Linked DNA regions of Homo sapiens: region 2 is linked to region 1. The links are contacts of gene promoters, found by promoter capture Hi-C in human tissues and cell types (Jung and others, 2019). All regions are on one chromosome and are shown on one strand. Each heading gives the region's core, a stretch centred on a gene start or on the middle of the fragment in contact. The rest is flanking DNA. Distances are from core to core; before and after follow the strand shown. Region 1 holds the start of FBXO40 (F-box protein 40). Region 2 overlaps CD86 (CD86 molecule).

Evidence for each region. The method cuts DNA at HindIII sites, captures the fragments that hold promoters and counts their contacts. A contact is called where the count stands out against the background at its distance.
Region 2: a contact is called between a fragment that was not itself captured here and the fragment with the promoter of FBXO40 in region 1, in 3 of the 25 tissues and cell types used here (liver, lymphoblastoid cells and thymus).

What each region holds. Positions count from the first base shown.
Region 1 is chr3:121,592,007-121,596,524 of GRCh38, forward strand. FBXO40 (F-box protein 40) reads left to right here and starts at 1,373. Exons shown (of 4, transcript NM_016298.4): 1 at 1,373-1,496. RefSeq lists enhancers at 730-1,929, 743-1,393, 1,394-2,045 and a silencer at 1,316-1,610. The HindIII fragment of the contact is 12,396 bases long and covers 1-4,518 here.
Region 2 is chr3:122,071,021-122,075,452 of GRCh38, forward strand. All of the region lies in intron 1 of CD86 (CD86 molecule), which reads left to right. Among named protein-coding and RNA genes, the nearest start is that of CD86, 18 kb to the left of the region's middle. RefSeq lists an enhancer at 3,676-4,015. The HindIII fragment of the contact is 6,239 bases long and covers 1-4,432 here.

The DNA of each region.
Region 1 (4,518 bases), core at 123-2,622:
TTTGCTCATTCCAAATAAGTTTACCTCCAAGGACATATATGTATGAAGAATCCAGGGGAAAGGTTAATTCGATGGCTGTTAATCACAGCCAAATTTAGCACATCTGCTGTTAGTCAAAATACATTCAAATACATTCAAATAACAGCTGGCATTGTGGAGCACTTGGCATGTGGTACATATCATTCATGTGCCTTATGTGTACTGACACAGTTACCTGTGGTCGCACCAAGTATCATCGCCATTTCACAATGGGGAAAACTGAAATAGAAAATGGTTAAGTAAATTTGTCAAAATCACATACCTAATCCCAGCACTTTGGGAGGCTGAGGTGGGAGGATCATGAGGTCAGGATTTCGAGACCAGCGTGACAAACATGGTGAAACCCCGTCTCTGCTAAAAATACAAAAATTAGCCAGGTATGGTGGTACGTGCCTGTAATCCCAGATACTCAGGAGGCTGAGGCAGGAGAATCACTTGAAGCCAGGAGGTGGAGGTTGCAGTGAGCCGAGATCACGCCACTGCACTCTATCCTGGGCAACAGAGCGAGACTCTGTCTCAAAAAAAAAAAAAAGAAAAAGAAAACACCAAAGCCGGGATTCTATATTTTTTTCACTCACAAGATCCTGAATGAGTTTATCTGAAGATGATAAGATAAAGAACGCTAGACTGAGAGTTAAACAAGCTCTCTGGGGCTTTCCTCTGGCTCTTCCACTAACGAGATGTGTGACCTTGGATGAGCAATTTCCCTTTTCTGAATCTCTGTCTCCTCATCTGTAAAAAGAGGGAGCTGGACTAAATGACAGCTAAAGCCTCCTACAACCTCTAATTCTCTCACACTGGATTTACTCTACACCTGGTATCTGAATTACAAACTCTCCCTTTTCCAGGAAAGATGAAAGGACCAGGGGAGGACAGACACTTACTTGTCACGACAAGAGATAGGAGAAACTGAAGCAGGACACCATGTCATTTGCACAAGTTGCTGCTTCAGCCAGTGATGGGTTTAGGTGAGGAGCATGGTTATAATTAGAGCAGCAGCCAGTCCTGAAGGCTGTGCCAGCCTCCTTCAGCACAGCTGGGCCTGCCGACTGCACATGCAGGAATCTGAGAGGCTGTTCTGGCCTTGAAAATGATCCTTCTTAAAAGGATTTTCCTCCTTCCTCAAGGGAAAGAAAACCTATTGATATAAAACTTCACTTCCCATTCAGTTTCCCCTGCTAAATGCCACTCCAGTAGAGACTGAGTGTTGATAAATACAGGGGAAGGAAAAAGTCGTAAGCTGAGCCTGGTCACATTGCCCCTTGTGATATCGTTTTATTTTTAACTTCGCAACACTTGGACTATTTCTGTTGAAGTTTTCTCTCCTTTCCCTGCCTTCCCAACAGAACGCTGTCCTCTACTGCAGCTGATGCAACCCAGCCACCTCCCGGCAATCCGCTTACTTGCAATCAAGGGTTCAGGTGCAAGCAGATGCTGACTCAGCCTGTTCCATTAAGGTAAGTATTCAAACAGGAGCAGGTGCACCATGACGAGGACATTCAGTGGTGAATATGCAGATGAAGCTGAGCCGCATATCACTTTTGTGTCCTGTGGAAGAGGATTGTTAAGCAAATTAGTTATGTAAAGATGTGGGGGAAAGGCTGGCACTGAGAATGAGATCCAGCCGTGTGTAAATTTCTGTTTCCATTTCAAGAGCAGGTAGAGTACTTGCTTTCTGACAGCTTAGGTTCTTTCTTCTATAATCAACAAGAGTAGTTATGATATCTGTAAAGTTACAACATGGTGATGGGTGGGGGGATCTGGGGAAGTGGAGGAGGTGGTGAGGAAACAAGTGGAAGGCCTAGAATCCAGGATTTCTATTCCCTTTTCTTTCTTTTTTGAGACAGTCTTGCTCTGTCACCCAGGCTGGAGTGCAGTGGCACCATCTTGGCTCACTGCAGCCCCTACCTCCCAGGTTCTAGTGATTCTCCTGCCTCAGCCTTCCGAGTAGCTGAGACTACAGGCACATGCCACCACATCCGGCCAATTTTTGTATTTTTTTAGTAGAGACAGAGTTTCACCTTGATGGCTAGGCTGGTCTTGAACTCCTGGCCTCAAATGATCCGCCCACCTCAGCCTCCAAAAGCGCTGGGATTACAGGTCTGAGCCACTGTGCCTGGCCCAGAATTTCTATTATTTATTTATTTATTTAATTCATTGTTATTATTTTTTTGAGACAGAGTCTCACTCTGTTGCCCAGGCTGGAGTGCAGTGGTGCAGTCTCAGCTCACTGCAACCTCCACCTTCTAGGTTCAAGAGAGCCTCCTGCTTCAGCCTCCTGAGTAGCTGGGACTACAGGCCTGTGCCACCACGCCTGGCTAATTTTTGTATTTTTAGTAGAGATGGGGTTTCACCATGTTGGCCAGGCTGGTCTTGAACTCCTGGCCTCAAGTGATCCACCCGCTTCGGCCTCCCAAAGTGCTGAGAATACAAGCATGAGCCGCTGTGCCTGATCAGAATTTCTGTTTTCTAAAGTCTAAATGCTGTGATCTTTTCTCCAGTCAACATTTGCTATGTTTGCTTGCAAGTCATTCTCATGTAGCTTAAAATTTCGTCTGCTGTGTCATACTACTGGTTAATAAGCACAACTGTATTTTCTGTATATACTATTCAAACTCCGCAGAGTTTAACACCTTTTTTTCGCCAACAATATTCTCTAAGTGTGGCCCTCTTCTCCCCAGCTCTCTTGAGTCCAAAATGCATCCATGAAATATAAGTGAAATATTTCTCAAGTTGAAAAACTTATATAGGCTTATGCACCAAAACCAAAGATTGTTACAAGCTTGAACAATTTTGCATATTCAGAGGGATAAAAGTAAAATGACTAATGATACTTGAGGTATCAAAAGTTATAACTTTAGACAGATAGTTTCTCGCTTCTGGAATAACTGTATAGTGTTGCATGCACTAAAAATTGGCAAGGTAAGGGAGCAGTGTTTATTTTCTTGTTTTTCACTGGTTCAAAGTTCAGCTAAGGACATCCTGGGAAGTGGCCTATGCAGCAAAAGGGATTCTGTACACTCTGACCTTTGATGTGTACAGGCTAAAGCCACCGATGCCAAGTAAAAGGAGACCTAAACTAACTATTCAGATACCTTAACTCCTGGTTCCTTCCTGCCTGTCTCTGTAACCTCCATATGTACCCCAAGACTCTGCTATAGGTGTCTGGGTTATCATTATGCCTGTTTCCTGGGCACAAGCAAATTCACTGTGTATAATCACCTAACTTCATTTAATTTTTCCAGGGCCTCCACAGCACCAAGGTCTCCAAGGTGTATGCTGGGATGCTGTCCTGGTGAAACTAGGGTGTGTTGGCTTACAAGTAACCAAGCAGACAGATTGAGTCCCAGCTACCCCTAGATAATCCAGTTACTTTAGCACTATCTTGGCCAATGCAACTGTAATTTAATAGAATAGTACTGATACAAAAGCACCAGATATAAGAATTAACTAGCTAATTCAATAACTAATAAGTATAAAGTTAGAGAGATTTCTAGTATAGGTGGAAAACTTCAGATTGTGAAGTGGAATGGATCTGGGAGAGGGTGGTTCTGTTTTAGGATACAGTGAAGGTACTGGAATCGCAGCGTCGAAGCCAAGGATTATGGAACCCAATGTGGGAATTAGCCTCAGCAAAGTGATTGTGTTAAAATCTCAAGAAGGCAAAGAGATTACTTTAATAATTATCTTTATACATTTTCTTTCCCTACAATTAAATATTTCCATAGCAGGGAAACAGGTCAACAATGCATAATTAAAGTAACTAATTAATTGGCTGGTTAACAGGTTAAGAGTTAAAAAATCTTTGACCTTTAACTTTTAACCTTGTCACTTTCACTGAAGTTAAAGCTCAGAAATAAATCATTATTGCCAGCGCCAGCCACATGAGGAGGCAGAATAGTTTAGTTACTGACATCATGTGAGGGGTGCTGAGAGGGCCCCTTGCCTAAAAATATCTCCCTGACATCAACCCTGTTTGCCTACTAACTTTAAAATTATAGAAAAGAATGTTAAAACTATTGTTTGTTAATCCCATTCTCTTTTGCTTGAGTCAGTGATTTAAATACACCTGCTATACGTGTTAGCATGACTTTGTTGACCAGCAACACTTGGTCACCACCTCCTCCTCCTTCTTCCACGCTTTGTCCTACTCTGCCCTTGGTACCATCTAAGCTGCCAACATGCCTTGGCTGTCACCACTCAGGTAGCTTTGTGTGGTGCTGTGATTTCTACAGACTCTTTCAATAAAACATCAAAGCACAATAGAAAAAAAGCACGTGACTAGAGCCAGAGACTCTGGGAGCATAGGCAAGACATTTCACTTCTCAGAGCCTCAGTTTCTCCTCTAGGAAACAAGGAGGTTAAAACAGACCCTTTCCTTTCAAAATGAGGTCCTTAGACCATCAGCTTCATCTGGATTTTGTTACAAGGAAAGAGTCTCAGGCCTCACCCTGGTCCCACTGGATCAGAATCTGCATT
Region 2 (4,432 bases), core at 1,317-3,816, 480 kb after region 1:
GAGAATTCCCATCTACTCCCTTTGTGGAACACAATTTCCCCTATTTTTACCATCTTGCATTAGTGTGATGTATTTCTTACGATCAAGCCATTGTTGCTTCATTATTATTATTATTTAAAGCCCATAATTTACATTAAGTTTCTCTCTTTGGGTTGTACAGTTCTATGGATTTTGACAAATACACAATGTCATGTATCCACCATTATAGTATCATACAGAATAGCTTCACTGCCCTAAGAATCCCCTGTGCTCTGCCTGTTGACCCTTCCCACCCCTCCCCAACCCCTGGAAACCACTGATCTTTTTACTGTCTCCACAGTTTTGCCTTTTCCAGAATGTTCTATCTTTGGAATCATACAGTATGTACCCTTTTCAGATTGACTTCTTTCATTAAGCAATATGAATTTAAGTTTTCTCCATGTCTTTTCACATCTTGATGGCTCATTTCTATTTATTACCACATAATATTCCATTGTCTGGATATACCACAGCTTTACCAACTGAGGGGCATCTTAGTTGCTAATTATGAATAAAGTGGCTATACATATTCACGTGTAGGTTTTGTGTGGACATAAGTCTTCAATTCAATTGAGTAAATATACCTAGAAGTGTGACTGCTGGATCATATGGTAAGAGTATATTTACTTTTTTAAGAAACTGCTAAACTATATCCCAAAGTAGTTTTACCATTTTGCATTCTTTTCTTTATTTTTTTTTTATTATACTTTAAGTTTTAGGGTATGTGTGCACAATGTGCAGGTTAGTTACATATGTATACATGTGCCATGTTGGTGTGCTGCACCCATTAACTCATCATTTAGCATTAGGAGGTAAATCTCCTAATGCTATCCCTCCCCCCTCCCCCCACCCCACAACAGTCCCCAGAGTGTGATGTTCCCCTTCCTGTGTCCATGTGTTCTCATTGTTCAACTCCTATCTATGAGTGAGAACATGCGGTGTTTGGTTTTTTGTCCTTGCGGTAGTTTACTGAGAATGATGATTTCCAATTTCATCCATGTCCCTACAAAGGACATGAACTCATCATTTTTTATGGCTGCATAGTATTCCATGGTGTATATGTGCCATATTTTCTTAATCCAGTCTATCATTGTTGGACATTTGGGTTGGTTCCAAGTCTTTGCTATTGTGAATAGTGCCACAATAAACATACGTGTGCATGTGTCTTTATAGCAGCATGATTTATAGTCCTTTGGGTATATACCCAGTAATGGGATGGCTGGGTCAAATGGTATTTCTAGTTCTAGATCCCTGAGGAATCGCCACACTGACTTCCACAATGGTTGAACTAGTTTACAGTCCCACCAACAGTGTAAAAGTGTTCCTATTTCTCCACATTCTCTCCAGCACCTGTTGTTTCCTGACTTTTTAATGATTGCCATTCTAACTGGTGTGAGATGGTATCTCATTGTGGTTTTGATTTGCATTTGTCTGATGGCCAGTGATGGTGAGCATTTTTTCATGTGTCTTTTGGCTGCATAAATGTCTTCTTTTGAGAAGTGTCTGTTCATATCCCTTGCCCACTTTTTGATGGGGTTGTTTGTTTTTTTCTTGTAAATTTGTTTGAGTTCATTGTAGATTCTGGATATTAGCCCTTTGTCAGATGAGTAGGTTGCAAAAATTTTTTCCCATTTTGTAGGTTGCCTGTTCACTCTGATGGTATTTTCTTTTGCTGTGCAGAAGCTCTTTAGTTTAATTAGATCCCATTTGTCAATTTTGGCTTTGGTTGCCATTGCTTTTGGTGTTTTAGACATGAAGTCCTTGCCCATGCCTATGTCCTGAATGGTAATGTCTAGGTTTTCTTCTAGGGTTTTTATGGTTTTAGGTCTAATGTTTAAGTCTTTAATCCATCTTGAATTGATTTTTGTATAAGGTGTAAGGAAGGGATCCAGTTTCAGCTTTCTGCATATGGCTAGCCAGTTTTCCCAGCACCATTTATTAAACAGGGAATCCTTTCCCCATTGCTTGTTTTTCTCAGGTTTGTCAAAGATCAGATAGTTGTAGATATGCGGCCTTATTTCTGAGGGCTCTGTCACTATACATCTACTAGAATGGGTAAAATCCAAAAATCTGACAATACCAAATGCTGCTGAGGATGTGGAGCAACAGGAAGCCTCATTGCTCCACATCCTCAGCAGCATTTGGTATTGTCAGATTTTTGGATTTTAGCCATTCTACTAGATGTGTAGTGGTATCTTACTGTTTTAATTTGCAATTCTCTAATGAGGTATGATGCTGACCACCTTTTCATATGCTTATTTGCTGTCCGTGTACCTTCTTTGGTGAGGTATATGTTCAGATCTTTTGCTCCTTATTAAATTGGGCTGTTTGTTCTTTTATCTTTGAGTTATAAGAGTTCATTGTGTATTTTGGATACCAGCCCTTTATCAGATATATCTTTTGCAAATATTTTTTCCCCAATCTTTGGCGTGTCTTTTTATTCATATAATGGTTGATACATGTTTCTGCTTTAAGGAGGAAGGGTTTTAAAAATACAATTTACAGTAGCAGTAAAAATAAAAATTTATTGCAAATGTCTTATGTTCACTCTCAGGTGATGTCAGGGAACTATGGACCCAGCAGGGTTTAATTAAAGGGGAGTGTCAAGTCCTGGGGGCTGTGGTTGACAATCCTCCTTTATTGGCAATTGTGCAGCAGGGCTGGGAGTAAGAAGACAACCCAGTCCTGAGCTGCATCACTTCTAAATTAAGAATAATTCAGGAACTGTGTTTACGGTGAAATCCTGGCCCTTCTCACATAGATTATATTATGCATAGGATATGAATTTCTGTCCATGAATCCAAGTATATATGAAATCATCACTTTGAAAATTTCCTTTAACTCAACTTAATCCCACTGGTGAGCCTCAATCCTGCCAGTTGAAAAAGAGACTGTAACTGGGTCATGCAGGAGTCTCCTTCCTTTCCTGCAGCCCAGTCAGAATTCAAGAAGTTCACCTGGTAACTGGAAAATGATGGAAGGGCCTCAAGTCCCTAGTCTGTCCTGGTTGCCATTGGCACCCTTACTATCTGAGCCCATAGTGGTCTGTGAAGTCCGGCAGCTCCCTGCCCCCATGCCACAGTGGGGAATGAGAATATCTACTGATGCTGGGCCCCATGAGCAAAGCATGCTGCCTTTCTAGGCATGAGCCATCACACCTGAGGTTGCTACCCCCTCGGGAGCACTGATGGAGGGGCAGTTGGGTTTCTACTGCTCACAGGACCCAGACAACCATCCCCTGCCCTCCCTTCTTCTTGCACTTCAAAAGCACTCTCTTCCTCTCTTTTCACCTCTAAGCCACCGGTATCATCTCTTCCATGGGCTTTCACAAAAGTCTGGATGAACCTTTGAACTTGTATCTCTTCTGCTTTCCCCCTTGCATCAAGAAAGCTTAGAAAACAAACACTAATTAACGTTTCAATAAATAATGCTGCTCTAATTATTTGTGGAAACTATTCTGTATTAGAACTACCATCAGCACCGCCTCCTAGAGTGCTTTTAGACTTGACCACTGGCCGCAGGAGGCCACTTCCATATAACAACAAACAGATGGCTGAAATTGGAAAACTCAGCTAAATGTTCAGATGTTTCTAGACTCCCACGGGTTTCTGGCTCTGGCACATGGAGTAGATCCTGACTGTGTGGTCCTCAGGGGACTCTCTCTGGTGAAGTTTGGTGAGGTCAACTTCCACACCCACACACACCAGCTACTGTGTGTAGCCTGTCCTCCTCTGGTTGCTTCTACTTGCAGCCTTGGCCTCTTCAGTCCTGAGAGCGTTGGAGAATGAGGCAGTGGAGGAAGCAGCCCCACACAGAAAGCAGTTTCTGAAGTAACCTCAGCAACTTCCTCCTCACCAAACACAAGGAACTGATCTTCTCCACTGGGCTCGGCCTCTGGTCAGCCAAGGACAACACTGTTGACCACCATCACGGTTGGCCCCACTCCACCCTTGGCTCTGATGACATATGTGGGAGTCAGAGGAATTTTGATTGGCTGACTGCTGGCCTGTCACACAAACAAGATGGGGCAAGGGGGTTGCGATATGACTTGACATGTGAAAAAAAAAAAAGCCGTGGTCAGCAACCCCCTGCAACTGTTGAAAGGCTAATTCAATCTCTGACTCTTTAACAAAAGTGATCTTGTTCACTGCCTGTTCTGCCCTGAGAGCCTTCTCTGCTAGGAGGTAGGTTGACTGACTCAGGGAGAAGGGTGCTGGTGGCAGAGCTGCCAATGGGTGAGGGTCCTAGAGACTATCGACATGAGGGGCAGTTGAGAACACTGTAGTATTTAGCTGAGAGGAGAGACTATTAATAAAATTTACAAAATCAGCTTTCAGCTATTTGGAAGGGTTTATATAAAAGGATAAAATAATATGTTCTGGTAGTTCTAGAAAACAGGACAGAGACAAGTAGC